Linked DNA regions of Homo sapiens: all the other regions are linked to region 4. Evidence: promoter capture Hi-C in 16 types of primary human blood cells and fetal thymus (Javierre and others, 2016). All regions are on one chromosome and are shown on one strand. Each heading gives the region's core, a stretch centred on a gene start or on the middle of the fragment in contact. The rest is flanking DNA. Distances are from core to core; before and after follow the strand shown.

Region 1 (4,933 bases), core at 774-3,273, 320 kb before region 4:
TTACCCTTGTGCAATCACTCAGAACTGAACTTACATATCTTTTACACAGGAGAGAATTGGCATCCACCAATGTTTTGCTACTATTGATCCCAATCACTAAAATCTCTTAGAAATTTCAGGAAATGGTATATTTTCCATCCCTTACTATTCTAGTTTAAAGCATTAAGATTGGGGAAAATCTTTTACACCTTTGTTTCTGGTTTTTTTTTCCTTTGGAATATAATTTATTTACTTTTCAATGCTATCTTTTAGGATATATTTTTTCTCTTGTCCTAAAATTATCTCTTGGTGGAGGGCACTGTTAACTTTTTGCTTTGTGTGTGTGTAGGCTCATGTTATGCTATGTGTATGCTATTTTATGCTATGTGCCTGGTTATAACACATTTATCTATTTTGGAAAGTTAATTTTTAGCAATCAGAGAACATGTTTATCTCACTTGCCAAGAATAGATACTTTACGTTTCTGTTGCATTTCTTGTCTGCAGTGTTTCTCATCTCTTCCCAATTCTTTTAAATCTTAACCACGCTTGAGAACCCAGCTTGAATCACGGCTGGTTCCAGGACTCTTCCCCGGCTCTTCCACCTGGAAATGGTCTTTTCCTCCTTCCTTCATTTATTTCGCAAATAAATATTGAGTGCCCACTCTTTGTAAGACACTGATTAGGTAATAGAAGCTATGTAAAAGTTGTGACAAATAATTTTGCACTGGTAGATATGTGTTTCTATGCAGTCATGCACTGTATAACAATGTTTCAGTTAACCTAGGTTTGTATAAGTATACTCTATGATGTTTGCACAACAGTGAAGTCACGTAATGATGCACTTCTCAGAACATATTCCCATCGTGCAGAGATGCACAAGTATATCATATTTTCTCGGTTAAATTGTGATTTACTTGGGGGTACATCCTTCTCCTTATTGTTTCTTGTATTCCTTATAAAATTTAGCAGGGTGACTTCTACATAGTAAGGGTTCAAGAAAAAGCTGAATTTATATGATTATATTTGTAAATTTTCTTTAAATATACTTAGGTATGCAAGACACAAATAGTTCTTTTCTTTTTTTCTTTTGAGACAGAGTCTTGCTCTGTTGCCCAGGCTGGAGTGCAGTGGTGCGATCTTGGCTCACTGGTTAAAGCAATTCTCCTGCCTCAGCCTCCCAAGTAGCTGGGATTACAGGCACGCGCCACCATGCCCAACTAATGTTTGTATTCTTAGTAGATACGGGGTTTCACCATGTTGGCCGGGCTGGTCTCAAACTCATGGCCACCTTGGCCTCCCAAAGTGCTGGGCTTACAGGTATGAGCCATCACTCCTGGCCTAGGACTGAGTTATTTGAATGCAAATCAGGAAATGGCACATCGGAATTTATTATTTATTTTATTTTATTTTATTATTTTCTAGAGATGGGGGTCTCTCTATGTTGCCCAGGCTGGCCTCAACTCCTAGCCTCAAGTGATACTCATCACATCAGAATTTAGGGTACAAATATAGTCCATAACAATTGGAAATTTTAGTCCAGTCACCTCATTTTCCAACGCTATGATAAACATCCTTGTGAATGCTGTTCTCCTGGTCTAGAAGGCTCTTCTCAGCCTTCTGTGTGTCTAAGGCCCACCATTCTTCATTGTCAGGTTCCACCACTTCCAGAAGACAATAACCTGTCTTCCCCAACCATTTCAGTCCATACGGGTGCCATCTCCCTCTGAACTACTGTAGCACTTACCACCTAGTTCAGCAACCAGATTTCCCCAGCAACTCTTTCTATGTGGAATTCTTGTCTATTCTACGGGATATGGACCACATTATATATATACTTCTCTTTATGCCTGTGTGTCAAATACATTACTGATTAAAGCTTGGTTTTAAAGTCCAAATGTGGTCATATTGGTGAACTGCTATAAACCTTGCAGAGGCATTAGTAAAATAAAGGACTTCTTTTGGTACAAATTAGATGTGTGACAGGCTGCTTTTAACAGAGTATTGGCTTCACACAACTTTAAGTAGTGATTTTACCAGAAATGTTTACATTAAACAGCCTTTTTAGAAAGTAAACTGTTACAACTATCTTGTAAAGTAACCTAACAATATGTATCAAGAATCTTAAAACTTTTCATACCTTTTAGTGCACCTATTTTGGGGAGTTTAACTTAAGGAAACAATCCTAAAGCAGAAAAATAAAAAGCTTTGTATGTAAACATGTTTATAATAGGATATCAGTAATATTGTTGTTCCCAAAAAAGTGAATGAGCAAATACATTATATATACGTATACATACACACACAATATTTTATATGCTGATTGTTTCCACTTGTATTTCCCTGTGTTGATACAAATTTTACTAACTACATTTTTACTAGATATGTAATATTCTCTCATGTATATATAAAATTATATGTTTTATATAACATGTATAATTTAAATTTAAATATATAATATAAATTTATAATTTATATATAGTTATATAATATATATTTTTATATATGTATGAGAGAATATGTATCTAGTAAAAATATAGTTGGTAAAATTTGTATCAACACAGGGAAATACAATAAGTGGAAACAATCAGCATATAAAATTGTATATATGACATAGTCAAAATGATACACAAAAATATGAGTAGAAAGAAGAAATGAGAGGGAATATACCAAAATGCTAAGATGAGTTTTAGTGCCTGGATTGCCATTTAGATTTTTGTCTTTTTCTTTCTACTTTTTTTCTGTTTTCCAAATCATCAAAATTGGGCATAATTTCTGAATAAAAAAGAATATAATTTCAAATATGGAGGAGGCATCAAGGATTTAAATTTCAAGTAGACAGTTTTTAGAGTTTAAACATTTTAGTGATTTCGTGTCTGAAGTATGTGATTGTCCAAATTGTTGGATCTTCCCCACCCCCGCCCCTGCCCCCAACCCCGCCAAGTGCCGTCAGGTCTGGCGAGTGTCTAACCACTTGGTGGCCAGTTTAAATCTTTCCCACAAACTTTCTAGTTTATGTTGTCCCATGAGCCCTGGGGCAGTTTGGATTTTTGCAGAACTGAGAATAAGCTATGAATGAAAAGAAGAAAATGGGATTATAGATTCCTTTCCTCCACTTTATGGCCAGAATACTAGGTAGCTCAGGAAGTTCTGAATCAGTCCTTTTTCTAGGCAAAGGCAGAAATCCTGGGCTTGGGTTCTTCAAGGTAGGCTAATCAGGGTGTCAGAGATTTTTGGTGTCCTTTTAACATCCAGGAATTACAGATAAGGTAAATCAAGCCACGAACACATAGGTACTCAGGCAGCGATTGGACAAATTTATGCTCTACTACAGCAGATACATTTTGCCAATGCTGGAATAAATTGGCAAGGTACTAAGGTTTACCTCTGTTTAAAATTCCTGCTTGGGAATATCTACCTTAGAATAACTGTTCATTTTAATCAGGTTAAAGGGCACCAAGGAACAATTCTAACAAACAGAATCAGATAATACTAGTAAAAAGGGAAAGAGAATATCCTGAGAAACAGAACTGAAACTTAAGTGATAGGAGGAAAATGAAACGAAACTGAAACTTAGCCAGCAAAGCTATTTAAAAAAAAAAAAAGTCTCGATCTTAACAGAGACCTAGCAGGTAACTATATATGAGCCAGTATTATCAAAAGTAAAACCAATAAATGTTGTACATTTTCCTACGTTACACTTGAAAGAAACTCTTAACCAGCAGTGTGAGCTGCATGACCTTGCTGCAGCCACTGACGTTCTCTGAGTCTCAGTTTACTCATCTGTGAAAATAGGTGTAACAGTACATGCCAGCCTCAATTAAATACAGAACTTCAGGGCTTGAGGGGGTCTTGGAGGTCATCAGATCTTGGCTCCTCCACTGGACCAGGGCCTTGGGGCTACCATGCTTACCTTGTTGGTGTAAGTGAGCTCTCGCAGCAGCCAGACATACTGCAGAGCCCATTGTGGGTGCAGGCAAACTGACTCCCAGGTCATGTGCAAGAGGCCATGAGAGAAGACAGGAGGATATTCAACCAATCTGGCTTCAGAAGGAGGCTCTGTGAGGACAGCTGAGTGGCCCAAGGTGGCTCAGACAGGGTACAAGCAATCGTCATCCTCAGAGTGGGACTCCATAGTGTGATAAAGCAGCCATGGAGCGGGGACAGGAGACAGGGACGGGACACCACCAGGGCAGGGGACCCATGCAGACAGGACCCTGAGCTCAGAAGGGCCCTAAATGTTCTGCCAACACCTTCTTGATATTTTTTCTTTTCTTTTTTTTTTTTTTGAGAAAAGGTTTCACTCTGATGCCCAGGCTGGAGTACAATGGTGCAAATACAGCTCACTGCCACCTCAACCTCCAGTAGTCCTCCCACCTCAACTTCTTTAGTAGCTGGGACCACAGGCGTGCCCCACCACGCTTGGCTAAGTTGTTTCTTCTCTTCTTTGTAGAGATAGGGCCTCACTGTGTTGCCCGGCCTGGTCTCAAACTCCTGAGCTCAAGCGAACCTCCCACCCTGGCCTCCCAGTATGCTGGGATTACAGATGTGAGCCACTGTCCTGGCGTCATGGTGAAATTCTTAATTTTGTTAAGAGACATCCCCACAATTTCATTTCATACAGGCTCTGCAAATTATGTAGCCAGTGCAGGGTACAACATCCAAGATCTGCTGAACAGAGGGCTGGAGGGGAGGGGTTGTGACACAGGGTGATCAGAAACTGCTCTGGGATGTGTGACACTTCCCAAGCCTCAATAAACGGTAGAATGGGAATAGACTGCTTCCTGGCCCCTCAGGACTGGCTTAGCCATGAAGGACTAACCTGGATGTTCTTGGGGACTGTGGTTGATTCCCATGGAGGCAGCTCCACAGAGGTCCTGGGCTCAAGTGTGGTACCTGAGAGAGGGTCAAGAGTCTGGTGGTTGTTGTCATTTTAAAATTTATTCTATTTTATT
Region 2 (4,567 bases), core at 317-2,816, 370 kb before region 4:
TCATATCCTTGATGTCAGACTCCAAAATGTTTTGTCAATCTGCTGAGTGTGAGATGACACCTGTTTCCATTTGCATTTTCCTGACTACCAGTGAGGCTGCACATTATGTAATAGCTGTTCAGGTTTCCTCATCTCAGAATCACCTATTTATGTCTTTCACCTATATTTCTGTTGGGATGATTGTCTCATTGACTTTTTAGGAAGATCCTTCCATAGTCTGGATATAGTCTTATCTGTAAATATCTTGCAAACACCATCTCTCAATCTATGGATGGTCTCCTGGCTATATGGTTCCTTTTGTCACAGAGAAGCTCTAATTTATTAAGATCTCTACCGTGGTCATGCTCTACTTTATTCAAGAAAGGCTTCTCCTCCCAAATTAACATTGAAAAGTTTAAGTTTTACATTTTACATATAAGTTGTTATTCACTTGAATGTCTTCTGCATGATGTAACTGGGAATCTAATTATACCTATTTTTTCATATGGAAAATCAATTGTGCCAACACCATTTATTGAACGGTCTATTCTTTGTCCACACACCATTTATTGAACAATTTATTCTTTCTCCACACACCATTTATTGAATGGTCTATTCCTTCTCCACTTATTTGTAATGCAACCTCTGTCACATTCCAATTCCTATATGTCAGTTTCTTCACTCCTTAAATGTTCTATCCATGTGCTATCAGCAGGCAGAATGATTTACTCTAGTGAATCTACCTTTACCTTCTTCTTGACTTGAAGCTTCAGAGCTGTCTTCTTTTAAGTGTTCTAATATCTTAGAAGTCTTCAGAGAGGATTGTAAGTTATCTGCAGGAAGCATTCAATACTATTAACTTTTTAGGAAAATTAAAATAAAGAAAACAAATATAATAATTGTTTTTTTACCTAAGGAAAATGAATGGAGGGTGAGTGGTGAAGAAAACATGGCTACTAGTGAGAAGGCAAGATGACACAGCCCAAAGCACTAGACTGTGAGTGGGAACCGTGTTCAAGAGGCCAGCTGTTCCCTGAAGAGCGACTGACCTGGACAAGTCATTTCATATCTGTCAGCCCCAGTGTGCTCATGTGCAAAATGAGGAAATAAAGTAGAAAGGTGCTTCTTAAACATCTGTGGTGTGGTAAAGATTCAGTTTTCATTTTTTTAAATCTTCAGTTTGCTGTGGATCGTTACTTTTGTAAAATACAATAAAATAACGTGGCACTGTCAAATTGTTAATCTCTCAGTGTCTGCTCTCAATTTCTGTTCTCGTGTTACAGAACAGTAACAAGCAATTTATGGACCAGCACTGGCCCATGCAACACATTTTGGATTACTTCCCCATTAAAATACAGGCCAGCAGGACTCCACAGTTCAACATCTTAACTCATTCAGGACTTTAGCATTATTTTTTTTCAGCGCTAGTTTTCAGGATATGGAGTGATGCTCTCTGTACCAGAGAATAAAAAGATAAAGCTATCAATTAAAAAAAAAAAACCCAACAGTGTATGCAAATGAACCCTGACAACAGTATATTCACTAGTGAAACAACTCAGATATGTAAGAACGTTAGGCTGACAAGATTTCCCACAATCTCAAGTTCTGTACTTTCATACAGTGTTTTAATTTTACAACCTAAAAACAAAATCCACCAACCTCTTTAGCACTGCTCATGTAATTTAAATACTGCCACACCCTCAAGATGAGTTTATTACTTATATATGAACTCCTCACTTGGGTGAGTTTTCCTGAGCAGCCTGTTCATCTGAACTAAAAGTTTAACTTTGTGCTCAATTCAATGCCTTTTTGAAACTAAACTGATGCTATTGATACATGTTCAATAAAAAACACATTTGGCGCAGGGGGAAAGCACTGATGGTTAAATCTACATAGCTACAGAATGATCAGGATTCTCTTTAATAAATGCTGTTGTTATCATTCAGACATAAATTTAATCATGAAGTTGTACATTTTGTCTTGGTCAACTAATCACAAAGAGTCATATTTTTAATTCGGATTGATAATTACGTTAGCATTAACACACTTAATTAGAGAAACTTTAAAGGTTAGCCCGTGTAACAATCATACTATTCTTGCACCTCTTTTTCTCACACCTCAAATTGAGGAAATATGTGTTTTTCTTTCCCCTTTAAATACAGGAAAAAATGACTCTCTTGAGAGCAGAGGGACAGTTTTAAAAAAGAAAAATGTTCCTTGCCATAGCTATGCCTGAAGTTCAGCAGAAATTCTGCTAAAGGACACGCCAATGTTACTGACAAAATATTTGTAAAAGGCAGGCTGAGGTAGATGTGTAGAAAATTAAACACAAGGCAGACAGTGGTGAAAGGTGAAATAAGAGGGCAAAACTCAACATACGGAACATAAGAAAAACTGGCAAAGCTTCGTGGAAGAGGTGATGTTTCAGCTGGGCCTTAAAACAGGTGTGATTTTAATGGGCTATGACAAAAGGATGTATGTTTAAGTAAGGGTACAAATGAGCAAAGACACAGGGCAGGCAACAGCTGGGCATGCTAGGAGACAGAGCACAGGGAGCAGAAGGAAGCTCCCGGAAGGTCACAGTGAGGCCTGAATTTCAGACCAAGCAGGAATTTAACACATTTATCCTTGTGATAATCCAGGGATAGATCAGAGTGGGAAACTAGAATCTGAGAAAAGAGTGAGGGTTTACCTTTAATAGTCCGTGCATGAAAGAAAGGCCTAACTGTAAACAAAGGGATGGTGACGAAGGGACATAAAGGAAGACATCCTTTGTCTAGTATGGGTTGTCCTTTCCGTGATGAAAACAAAGAGGCAGAGTGAGAAGAACAGGGCTAACATTTTCTGTCTGATCGGCTGGAAAGGTCAATTGGGAACAGGTGACAGGAGGAAGACAGACTAGATCATACACCAGCACGTGGCACTGTAAGGTCTCCAGCCTGTGAGGGAACAGTTCCTGCCCAGGAAATGAAGGACTGGCCATGCCCCAAAGACTAGAGAGACTCAGGCCTTACCTTGGAATCAGTCTGCTCTGTTATATTAGCTTTTATTCATGACCTTCTTTAAAACTGCAGTGTAAAAACTCATTAAAAATGACATTAAAAATGTATGTCACTATTCCTTAACTTTAACTAAAGTGACAAACCTACACAAAATGACACAGTAAAGCAATAAAATCCAACAAAGAAAAAAGATTTCCACAGAGGGACAGAGGATGCTTACTGATACTGTGTAGGGAGTCTGATGATATGGACTGAAAGAAGCTGTGTACTTTCTGACTTTGTAGAAAAGCTTGTGATGAACTTGAAAATAGCTGCCTGCACATAAAAAGAAAAGAGATTTGTTAATTTCAGGTAATGTTAATCCACAAGAAGCTCAGTTTCAATTATAAAGCAGAATGAAGTGGCAGTTTAATTCAGGTATGGAAAAATATTTTTCCTATAGAAAAGAATATTATTTTCTAATGTATTTCCTATGGGAAGAAGTCAGTAACATTTAACAAAATTCATTTGCAAGAATCGACTAAATAGGTTCATTTTTAATTTTGTATAATCTAATGGTAAGTTTTCAATACTGGCCCAAAAATGTATTATTTCAGCCTTTGCCCAAGTGGTCCAATAGCCACCCTTCTGTTCAGAAAAACAACTGCAATTTCTTTACTCTTCTCCACAGGTGTTCTTCTCCTTATTTGGCTGTACTTTTTTTTTTTTTGAGACTGAATTTTGCTCTTATTGCCCAGGATGGAGTGCAATGGCGCGATCTCAGCTCACTGCAACCTCCGCCTCCCAGGTTCAAGCTATTCTCCTGTCTCAGCATCCCGAGTAGCTGGGATTACAGGCATGTGCCACCACGCCTGGCTAATTTTGTATTTTTAGTAGAGACGGGGTTTCACCATGTCGGTCAGGCTAGTCTCGAACTCCTGACCTCTGGTGATCTGCCCACCTCGGCCTCTCAAAGTGCTGGGATTACAGGCGTGAGCCACTGAGCCTGGCCTTTGGCTGTAGTATTAACGGGCATTCCCACACTCTCAAAGTGGGAGGTTGGGAAGTTTGGGATGCTAAGAGTCCTGAAAAATATGGAACAGTCAATTATGTAGTTATCATATATCATACATATATTCTACAACCTAAGGCATGACTAACTGATGACTCATGTTGAATGTGTATCATGCCATGAGTCAAAGTTATCTTTGAAACCCAGCTTTCCTCATATTTTATTAATGTAATTAAAAGACTCCAGCTGGAGGTCTTCCCGACAGTGGTACCTGTAAAAGGGCTCTTGGGCAAAGAATTAGAGCAGAATCTACCAGGAAGTTTACTTTGGATTTGAATACCAGTTCAGTCGCTTATAAGATGAAGCACCCTAAACAAGCCAGTTAGCCTTTCAACTTCCAATTTCTCATGGTTACAAGAATCAAATAGTGCACACAGATAAACAGTCACCCTACCTACTACTTAGGTGCTCAACATACAAATCCCATTCTATTAGTTTTGAACACTTTTAATGCGCATTTTAAATTTCAATTAATTTCTCCCCCAAGGTTTTTGACCTATTATTCAGATTAATTATAAAATCATTAATATACCAA
Region 3 (4,317 bases), core at 216-2,715, 390 kb before region 4:
TTGGCACGCAGCCGAGTACTCAAAACTCACGGAGTGCAGTCCCCCTTTCTCTAGTGGTCACGCAGATTACCTCTATATAAAGTTACTTGGGAGGCCGGGCATGGAGGCTCATGCCTGTAATCCCACCACTTTGGGAGGCAGAGGCAGGCAGATCACTTGATGTCAGGAGTTCAAGACCAGCCTGGCCAACATGGTGAAACCCCGTTTCTACTAAAAATACAAAAATTAGCTGGGTGTCATGGTACATACCTGTAATCCCAGCTACTCAGGAGGCGGAGGCAGGAGAATCGCTTGAATCCAGGGAGGCAGAGGTTGCAGGGAGCTGAGATCCCGCCACTGCACTCCAACCTGGGCGACAGAGCAAGACCCCGTCTCAAAAACAAAAAGGTTATTTGGGGGAAGAACTGAGGAGCATCCAGATGGTAAATAACTTTGGGATTCACTGCCCACCCTGCAGGGAAATGGATTGATCCTTAACCCCAAAATAATTACATACCTAAATAAAACTTTAAAAAAATCGCCATGTATGATGTCCTATCTCCACTTTTACAAAATTTACAATGAGGCACAATTCTTAAGCTGTTTTTCATTTTTTTATTGCTGTTAATTCAAGGAAAAAAGGTTGCATAAAATCCAATCTGTTCTAGAAATATAAGTGGCCTTTCCAGTACATAACATTTCAAATATCAAAGTATATGGTAAACATACAAATAAGGAGAAGGTAACATACCTCCTATGTACAGTACAGTATTTTAAATCATAAAATAAGCTCCATAAAGTACAACTGGCAAGTGATTCACAACGCGGCCCATAAGTGGCTTATCAAAACTCTCACTTGAACAACTCAACTGCAGCTTAACAATTAATTTAATAATGTGGTCCAAAAATACCCAGATCAAATAAAATATATTTAATCAAAATAATTTCCTTTACTTGAACTTTCTTTCTAAATTAAAGCTTTCATCTACCCCTTCACACCCACCCCTTCCCCATAACTCCCACCCCTGAAAGAAAGTTTCAAAATGTACATTGGTGCTATAAATATAAATGCTACTTATGAAGCATGAAATTAAGCTTCTTTTTTCTTCAAGTTTTTTCTCTTGTCTAGCAATCTGTTAGGCTTCTGAACCAAGACCAAATGTTTACGTTCCTCTGCTGCATACCAACGTTACTCCAAACAATAAAAATCTATCATTTCTGCTCTGTGCTGAGGAATGGAAAATGAAACCCCCACCCCCTGACCCCTAGGACTATACAGTGGAAACTGTTCATTGCTGATGAATGCAGCAGTCACCAAAAAATACACCCAATCTTCCAGATAACCTCAGTGCACTTTAGGAAATCAAAAATTACCTGGAAGCAATTTAGTACATAGATTGGCTTTTTAAAAAAACTTTTTTTTTTTTTTAAAAACAGCAGCATTAAACTTAGTGACATGACACCGACATGATTAATACCATCTTAACACACTCAGAATTCCGCCTTTCACATTATAATCAAGCATAGTGGTAAACTGTTATAAAAGTGACTTTGCTATGAGAGACAGGTTAGGGAACAAACAACCTGACTTATGGTAGAAACCCATAGCTCTGTTCAGATTGCAATAAACCATACACATTTTAAACACAACGTAACACTGTAACAGCTGGTACAGGGAAAGAAGAAATCTTCACTCAAGTAGTGTCTCTTTGAGCACAACACGGTGGTAGACAAGTAAAATTGGCTGTAGACTTTCATTACAAACACAAGCACACAGAGAGCGACATTCACACCAGTGTGTTCACTTTGTGTCTCTCTGAAGCAACAGGCTAAAAAAGGATGATGGAAGTAAAAAGTTGGTTTCAGAAAAAGCTTTTTGTCCATTTCGTACGTCATATTTTTTCAGTTTCATATGGTTTGACTTCTTCCTCTCTCTTCCACTTATTTTCATTTCTATTTGGACAACAAGCACTGCATATATGTATTTACGTGACGCTGTTTATTACATATATACACACTATTTTGGGAGTTTGATTCCTCCCATAAGATCAGGGTGAAACATTCTGCCCTTGGTTTATATGCAGAGCAGTTTACAAAAGTGGGGTGAATGCACTGCTGGCTGCTCCTGCTGCGGGCCGGAGACAGAGTGAGGCTGGCTGGGGAGGAAGTGTCGTTTAGGGTGAAAGTGAGAAAAGCTGGGAAGAAGCAAAATTTCTTTTTTTTTTCAAAACCATATGACTGTCACCAGTGTTGTAAAAAAAAGGTCAAATACACAGTTTTAAAGATTCAGTAAACATTGCACACAGCAAGTATTCAGTGTAAAAAAAAAAAAAAAAGCACGCACCAACATTTAAGTTTGTCTGAAGGTTTAAATTACATGTATCATACATATAAGCCTGTTGTTGAACCAGGAGACCAGAGGCTCAAAAGCATTGCATTCTTTCTTGTTTTGGACATTGGTACAAGAGAAATGAAAAATCCCAACTGCATAGAAATCTAGGAAATGTATAGACAAAGAAACAAAATACCTTTCCTTTCCTCCCCTCCACACCCCATGACTCCCCACACTTGAGTGTATTAAGTAGGCAAGCTTTACTCGTTTCAGTCTGCAGAATCCAACGTATCATTAGAAGGGGGGAGGGGAGGTGCGTATCTCAGTCTGTAAGTGCCTAAAATGGGAAAGACAGAACTAAGTCACCGCTTACAAGCAAACGTCATCACAAACCACTACGTACAAGCTATCACACGGGCATGCTCTCCACAAGGCACCTTCGTCAGCTCTAGTGCCACTCCAAATGGCCAATCCGCTCACTTTAAAAAGCAATGTAAAGTTTGTGCTTTGAATTCAATCTAAAAGCTATCAAACTTGATCTTTCTTTAAGAATGCCAAGTAAATATATTCCCAATTTAAGACTTTTTTTGTTTCTGGGTAAGATTTGGCAAAACGACAAAGGTCAAATGCAAGTGAAAATAACAGCCTGAAGTTGACATAAAATTTGGTATCTTACTCAAACATAGGTAAGACCATTTTCTTCTTTCTGGTGGTAGTAATATTAAACTTTGTTCAAATTCCTTTACTCTCAAATCAAAATAGTACTGAACTATTTTGTTCCTGTATTAATGCAATAGAATCTTGGACCTTTTTTTTTTTAACATTTGCTGGGAAGGAAAAGGGTAGCATGGGGAAACAGGCATGAGGCAGCTGGTTATGCAGATATACTAAATAGTTACTCAAAACCTAATGTCAGATAACTAAATTACTTCCTAGGTTTTCAATATTTAAAAATTTTGCTTACTCTATGAAACAGGATTGTAGCTTAAAAAAAAAAAGTGCTGCAAGCAAGAGATTTAACATTACAGAATGCAAATTCCCATCACACTCCTTCAAAAGGGCCTTTAGAGTTTATTCCTTAATTGGAAACTGAATTCCTCTGAACTTCCTTGTGCTCTGTGTGACCTGGGTCTACACTGTTTTTCCAGTTGCATTTTATGATCTGTCACTGAAAACAATATCCATAAACGAAAACACAAACAGATCTTTCTGCTACAACAGAATCCCATGATCAATAAGGAAAGGAAGGAGAAATGAGTGAACTCAAAAACAAGTCCTCTGGGAGTTATTGTGATTACCTTGTTGATTGGCCTCCATGGACGACTGCTTACAGTCCTGTGCATAGTGTCCGCTTACACCACAATTGTAACATGAGACATTCCCATTCTTCTTGGGCCCCGAACCACTGGTGTTGGCAACTACGTTAGGTGCTGGATATACAGGATAGAATCTCCCAAATCCTGCCATCTGCTGCATGCCATAGTTGGCTTGGCTCCCCATGACTGGGTCATGTACCAGTCCATTTGCATATGGAGTCTGAGGCAGAAAAAAAGGAAGTTGGTTTCCATTGCTCTGATGTGCTTGGTTGAGGTAGCTGCCATTGCAAATGGATGGCAGAGTAAAGAATGAAGGGACTCGGTACATTGGTCCAGGCATTGGATTAGGATAATAGTAACTATTTAGCTGAAGGTTTCCATTGGTCCCACAGCTGCACCTTCGCCCACAAGAACCACAAGGACCTGAGCCCATCTGCTGCGGTGGCACTACTGTCCCATTAGCGTTCGTGTTCCCCACAGCACTGATGTAAGAGGTGCTGTCACTCTGCGCGGTACTGTGTGTCAAGGCAGGGCTTGGGCTCGGGGCAGGGCCTGGGGTGTGGGTAGGAACTGCAGGAGGAACAGTTGCCTGGGCCTGGCTGATACCTGCGCTCGCTGGCTGGGGAGAAGTTGCTGCTGTGCTGAGCACACTGGAGTTCTGGCTGGGTAACACGCCGGCAGCAAGGGGAG
Region 4 (4,308 bases), core at 233-2,732:
TTGGCGGTGAAAAAGTCGTCCCAAAGACAAAGGGTCTTAAGTACATCTGACTTTTCGGAGACAGCAGCAGTGTGTCCTATTCTTTCTCTCCTGGCTCAGACTCAAAGAACTACTGCAGGCAATTCAGGTAACACTATTTCCTGGTAGTGTGATTCAGGTAACTGGAGAAAAAGGAAAATGCTTAAAGCAATAAACTAGTATAAAAGGGAACCTTCTGGAGTCCCGTAATAGCCAGTGAACTAGAAACTCTTGATATTTTATAGATACTGACACCAGTAGGGGAGCCAGGAGCCAAGTGCAACACCAGCCAAGGGTTGGAAGCAGGCAGAGAGAACAGTCATTGCCTGATCCTCTTGCTTCCACCGCAAAAGAGCGCCCCCACCCCAATACTCTCGTTCCTTAAAATGTCCCTATCGGGACCCACGCAGAAATACCCCCTCTCCCCTACAGTAACTCCGTACAATCCCAAATACCCTGCCGGAGTGTGACAGGCTGCGTCCACTTACTGAGCTGTCCCCCGCCCGACGCTGTACTCGGTTCCCGACCTCCAGCGCCCCCAACGCCGGCTGCTCCAGGGACCCCTGGCGCCCCCATCCCCGGCGGGGTTCCACTTTGCCTCTCGAAGTTGCCTGGATTGGAGAAGTAGTCGCGCAGCCGAGGCAGCTCCCGGCCACTCTCTAACAGCTCGGTATGCAGCTCCAGGGCGGTCAGCAAGTATTGATCGCGCAACAGCTGAGCAGCGATCGCATCAATTGATAATCGGGCCGGGGTCTCCCCGGTGCCCCCCAGGGCCACTGCAGCCGCCGACGCCTCCCCAGGGAGCCCTGGCCGCGCACTGCTTCCTAAGGCCACGGGATCCTGTGGCGACAGCGAGCCCGCAGAGCCAGGATCTAGGCCACTTCCGGCGCCCAGCCGAAGTACTGCCCGCCGTTCCTCTGTTGCAGCTACCTCGTCATCGTCCTCATCCGAATCACTGAGAAATGGATTCACGCCGCCACCACTGCCACTACCTCCAGGCGCCATCGCCGCCATCTTATCCTGTCAGGAGTGTGGGCGCCTCCCTGACTGGTTCCGACGGGCCGCAGCCCGAATCCTCTAGGCCTCAGGGGACACAGCGCACCTCCACAGCCCCGGCCTGACCACGTCCTGCCTCCCGACTTAGAGACAAGGAGTACGCTCCAAGGCAGGAGATCCGGATGCAGCTGCACCTGATGCCTCAGCCTCTGCTGCACCAGCAGCCCGGCTCTGCAGGCGTCTTCCTGGTCTCCAGTCTCGCGAGAACTGGAGCGTGCCCCTGCCCCTCTCCCCGATCTAGCCCCGCCCCAGCCCCGCCCCAGCCCACTTCAGCTCCGCCCATTCCCAGCGCCAGATAGCAAAGATTGAAGGCCCCGCTCTCCGCTCAAAAGCAAAACTCCACCCACGACTCCTCCATGATTGGTCAGAGAAGGAAGGCGTGGAGCGGACTGACGGGAGACTGGCCCGAGAATTATCGCGATAGCAGCAGCGGCCGGGCAGGTATTGGGGGCGTTCCGGAATTGAGGGGTGGTTGTAGTGGTGGCTTAGGAATACCCTCCCGGCTATCGCTTCAGTGGGTAGAGGGGACCACTGCCCGAGAGCTTTAATGGAGCTGGGTCCTGCCTTCGCGCTGAGGAGCCCTCGTTTTCGAGATCAGGCCTGACCGGGATAAGCTCCAGGTAAAGTTCAGGGACCAGTGCGCGGAGGGTGTCGGCGCCCAAACTGTGGTGTCGCGCCCGCGGACGCGCTGTTTCCCTACTGCGCTGCACTTTTTCTCGCTATTTGCTGCCAGTGGTGACATTTTGTCCCCATGGATAGCAAGTGCCCAGGCCTGTAGTCGGAATGTGACTTCCTTTCTTTTCCCTTCTCTGCCACATGCTTGCACACTCGGGAGGCCTAGCGACAGCACGACTTCTCAGCCCCGGAGGTGGTCCTGCCTGTGGGTGGGGACGGGGGCTGGAGAGACTAAACGGAAAAGGGAACGCTGAGGTTGGCATTTGCCTGGATCTGGGAACATCGTCGAGTTGGAAAACAAATTGTTAGGTACTCAATAAACGCTTAGGATTTAATACACGATTTACACAACAGGGACCCTTCAGAATATCTAATGCTGTCTCACCAGTAGACAGATAAGTAAACTTAAGCCAAGAGTGGTTGTTATAAAATCAGCTCCACGCCGGGCGCGGTGGCTCACGCCTGTAATCCCAGCACTTTGGGAGGCCGAGCCGGGCGGATCACGAGGTCGGGAGTTCGAGACCAGCCTGACCAACATGGTGAAACCCCTTCTCTACTAAAAACACAAAAATTAGTTGGGCGTGGTGGCGCAAGCCTGCAATCCCAGCTACTCAGGAGGCTGAGGCAGGAGAATCGCTTGAACCCCGGAGGCGAAGATTGCAGTGAGCCGAGGTCGCGCCACTGCACTCCAGCCTGGGCGACAGAACGAGACTCCGTCTCAAAAAAAAAAAAAAAAAAAAAAAAAAATCAATTCCGCTAATAAGGAGTCAAAGGAATTAACATCATTTCTCTTATGTCCCAAACGATTCTTTATCCACTGTCTCCTGCAACATTTCTGACTCGTTCATGCAGGCTAGAATCAAGGTTTTGGAACTTAGAACTATTTTAAAAGTTGAATGCTTCAGAGAGTTTTGATTTTTTTGATGAAATGTTAGCATATAAAGTACATATCCTAAGTTTAGAAGATCAACGTTTATCTTTTATGTCATTCCTTGATTATGATCTGAAAAGGTAAAGGAATTTCCAGTCAATACAATTAGACTGCTATTTCTTATGGCTCCTATTTTTTTCACACACAAATGACCACTTTTCCAGGCTTTAGATTTCCTTTCTTAGTGTACAGGTAAGTGACATATTACATTCAGTGTGTAGTAAACATTCCACAGTAAAGTATCTCCCGTTAGCTCCATGGAAAAATTAAAATAGACGATTCTTACATAACCTTAGGTCAGGTTATTGGTTTACATGTAAAAGTATGCCAACAGTTAAGAGTAGGCTTTAATTTCAATATACCCAGGCTCAATAAACTAAAATTTTCATTTGAATGGGGATTTGGGTTTTTAAAATTTTATTTTTGCTAGAAGTTTAAAAAAAAAGTACCAAGAATTTAAACTATTTTTTTATAGGACATTAGTTCCCAATGTTTTAATGATAAATAGTTTTCTGTGCCATATATTAAAAGTAAAACATGGGGAAAAAAATCCCCCCAAATAGAATTGAAATGGCAAATACTGTATCCTGTTAGAGATTTCTTAGCAAAAGGGATTGCTGATCCGTATTTTAGTTGGATTTTCCAGAGAGATTAAAATGGAACCAATTTCTGGAATCCAGGAATGGAGGATTAGTGAATGGCATGGGAAGGGCATGATTAGAAATGGATTGTTTATATACAATATTTCCATCTCCATGATTGGGAAATTGAGAAATCTCCTGCATTTAGGATTCCTGAAGAGGATTATGCTTATAAGATAGAAAAGCTTAAGTTCAGATCCCAATTCTACTCATTATTTATTGTGAGACCTTGAAAAAGTTACCTAACTTCTCAGCCTCACTTGCATTCGTCTATCAAAGGGGATAAGGAAAGTACACAGAATTGAGAATGTTCTTGTCCCAGTGCCTGGTACCTGCTACACAATAACTATTACTGTGGTCACTTATTAATTATTGAAATATTAGTATGTGTTGAGAACATTTGACAAGTGTTTAAAAATAAAACTAATATCAATCGTTTTGGCAGTGCAAGCCTGAAAAAGCAATTAAGTCAGTAGGGCTGAAGGGAGTATCTTTAATTTGGGGTCTCAGTTCTAAAACACAAGTTGAAAATAGATTTAAAATGTTTCCTCAGAGTTGTAAGAACTTGCATGTAGAGGAATTCTTCCCATACAAATCTGTGGTTTTCTGCTTCTATTTCTGCCTCCTATCCTATAACCATGAACTTGTGTGTTTGATCTTGTAAGCCCATTAGAAATCAACTGCCCAGTCTTCCCAGTATGTACTTTTCTTTTCCACAATACACAGAGGTTTGGTTATTCGTGAATAATGTATAAGTAACACACACTGGAATATTAAAAATTACCGATCACTACTTATAATAATGTATTATTAATAGTGTTGGGAAATTTCCTTTCTACTTAGTAAGATTTTCATTAATCTAGGCCCTTACAACTAATGTTTCATCTGACTAATGATAGTTATTAAAGCTTGTGCCTTAGCAATGAAGATGTAAAAGATGCCTTTTTTCAAAGCACGTCAATCATTTTAGTATTTAAAAAATTATTT

What was found. Contacts are between HindIII fragments. The CHiCAGO score rates a contact against its expected background, and 5 or more counts as called.
Region 1: a fragment that was not itself captured here is called in contact with the fragment with the promoter of PIGN in region 4 in 1 of 17 cell types (naive CD4 T cells); the score reaches 5.7 in naive CD4 T cells.
Region 2: a contact is called between a fragment that was not itself captured here and the fragment with the promoter of PIGN in region 4, in 2 of 17 cell types (megakaryocytes and endothelial precursors). The highest score is 5.6, in megakaryocytes.
Region 3: a fragment that was not itself captured here is called in contact with the fragment with the promoter of PIGN in region 4 in 15 of 17 cell types (megakaryocytes, erythroblasts, total B cells and 12 more); the score reaches 15.2 in megakaryocytes.

The regions. Positions count from the first base shown.
Region 1 is chr18:62,505,040-62,509,972 of GRCh38, reverse strand. No RefSeq gene overlaps it. Among named protein-coding and RNA genes, the nearest start is that of ZCCHC2, 16 kb to the left of the region's middle. RefSeq lists an enhancer at 3,416-3,665. The HindIII fragment of the contact is 327 bases long and covers 1,860-2,186 here.
Region 2 is chr18:62,554,932-62,559,498 of GRCh38, reverse strand. ZCCHC2 (zinc finger CCHC-type containing 2) reads right to left here. Exons shown (of 14, transcript NM_017742.6): 6 at 3,202-3,296; 7 at 729-812. Among named protein-coding and RNA genes, the nearest start is that of ZCCHC2, 34 kb to the right of the region's middle. RefSeq lists a silencer at 898-997. The HindIII fragment of the contact is 1,636 bases long and covers 749-2,384 here.
Region 3 is chr18:62,574,843-62,579,159 of GRCh38, reverse strand. It overlaps ZCCHC2 (zinc finger CCHC-type containing 2), which reads right to left. Exons shown (of 14, transcript NM_017742.6): 13 at 3,610-4,317; 14 at 581-2,648. The coding sequence ends at 2,581. Among named protein-coding and RNA genes, the nearest start is that of ZCCHC2, 54 kb to the right of the region's middle. The HindIII fragment of the contact is 777 bases long and covers 1,077-1,853 here.
Region 4 is chr18:62,184,230-62,188,537 of GRCh38, reverse strand. It overlaps PIGN (phosphatidylinositol glycan anchor biosynthesis class N), which reads left to right and starts at 1,482. Exons shown (of 31, transcript NM_176787.5): 1 at 1,482-1,694. It overlaps RELCH (RAB11 binding and LisH domain, coiled-coil and HEAT repeat containing), which reads right to left and starts at 1,283. Exons shown (of 29, transcript NM_001346231.2): 1 at 507-1,283. The coding sequence starts at 1,032. RefSeq lists silencers at 598-817, 1,768-1,980 and an enhancer at 968-1,177. The HindIII fragment of the contact is 4,021 bases long and covers 1-3,508 here.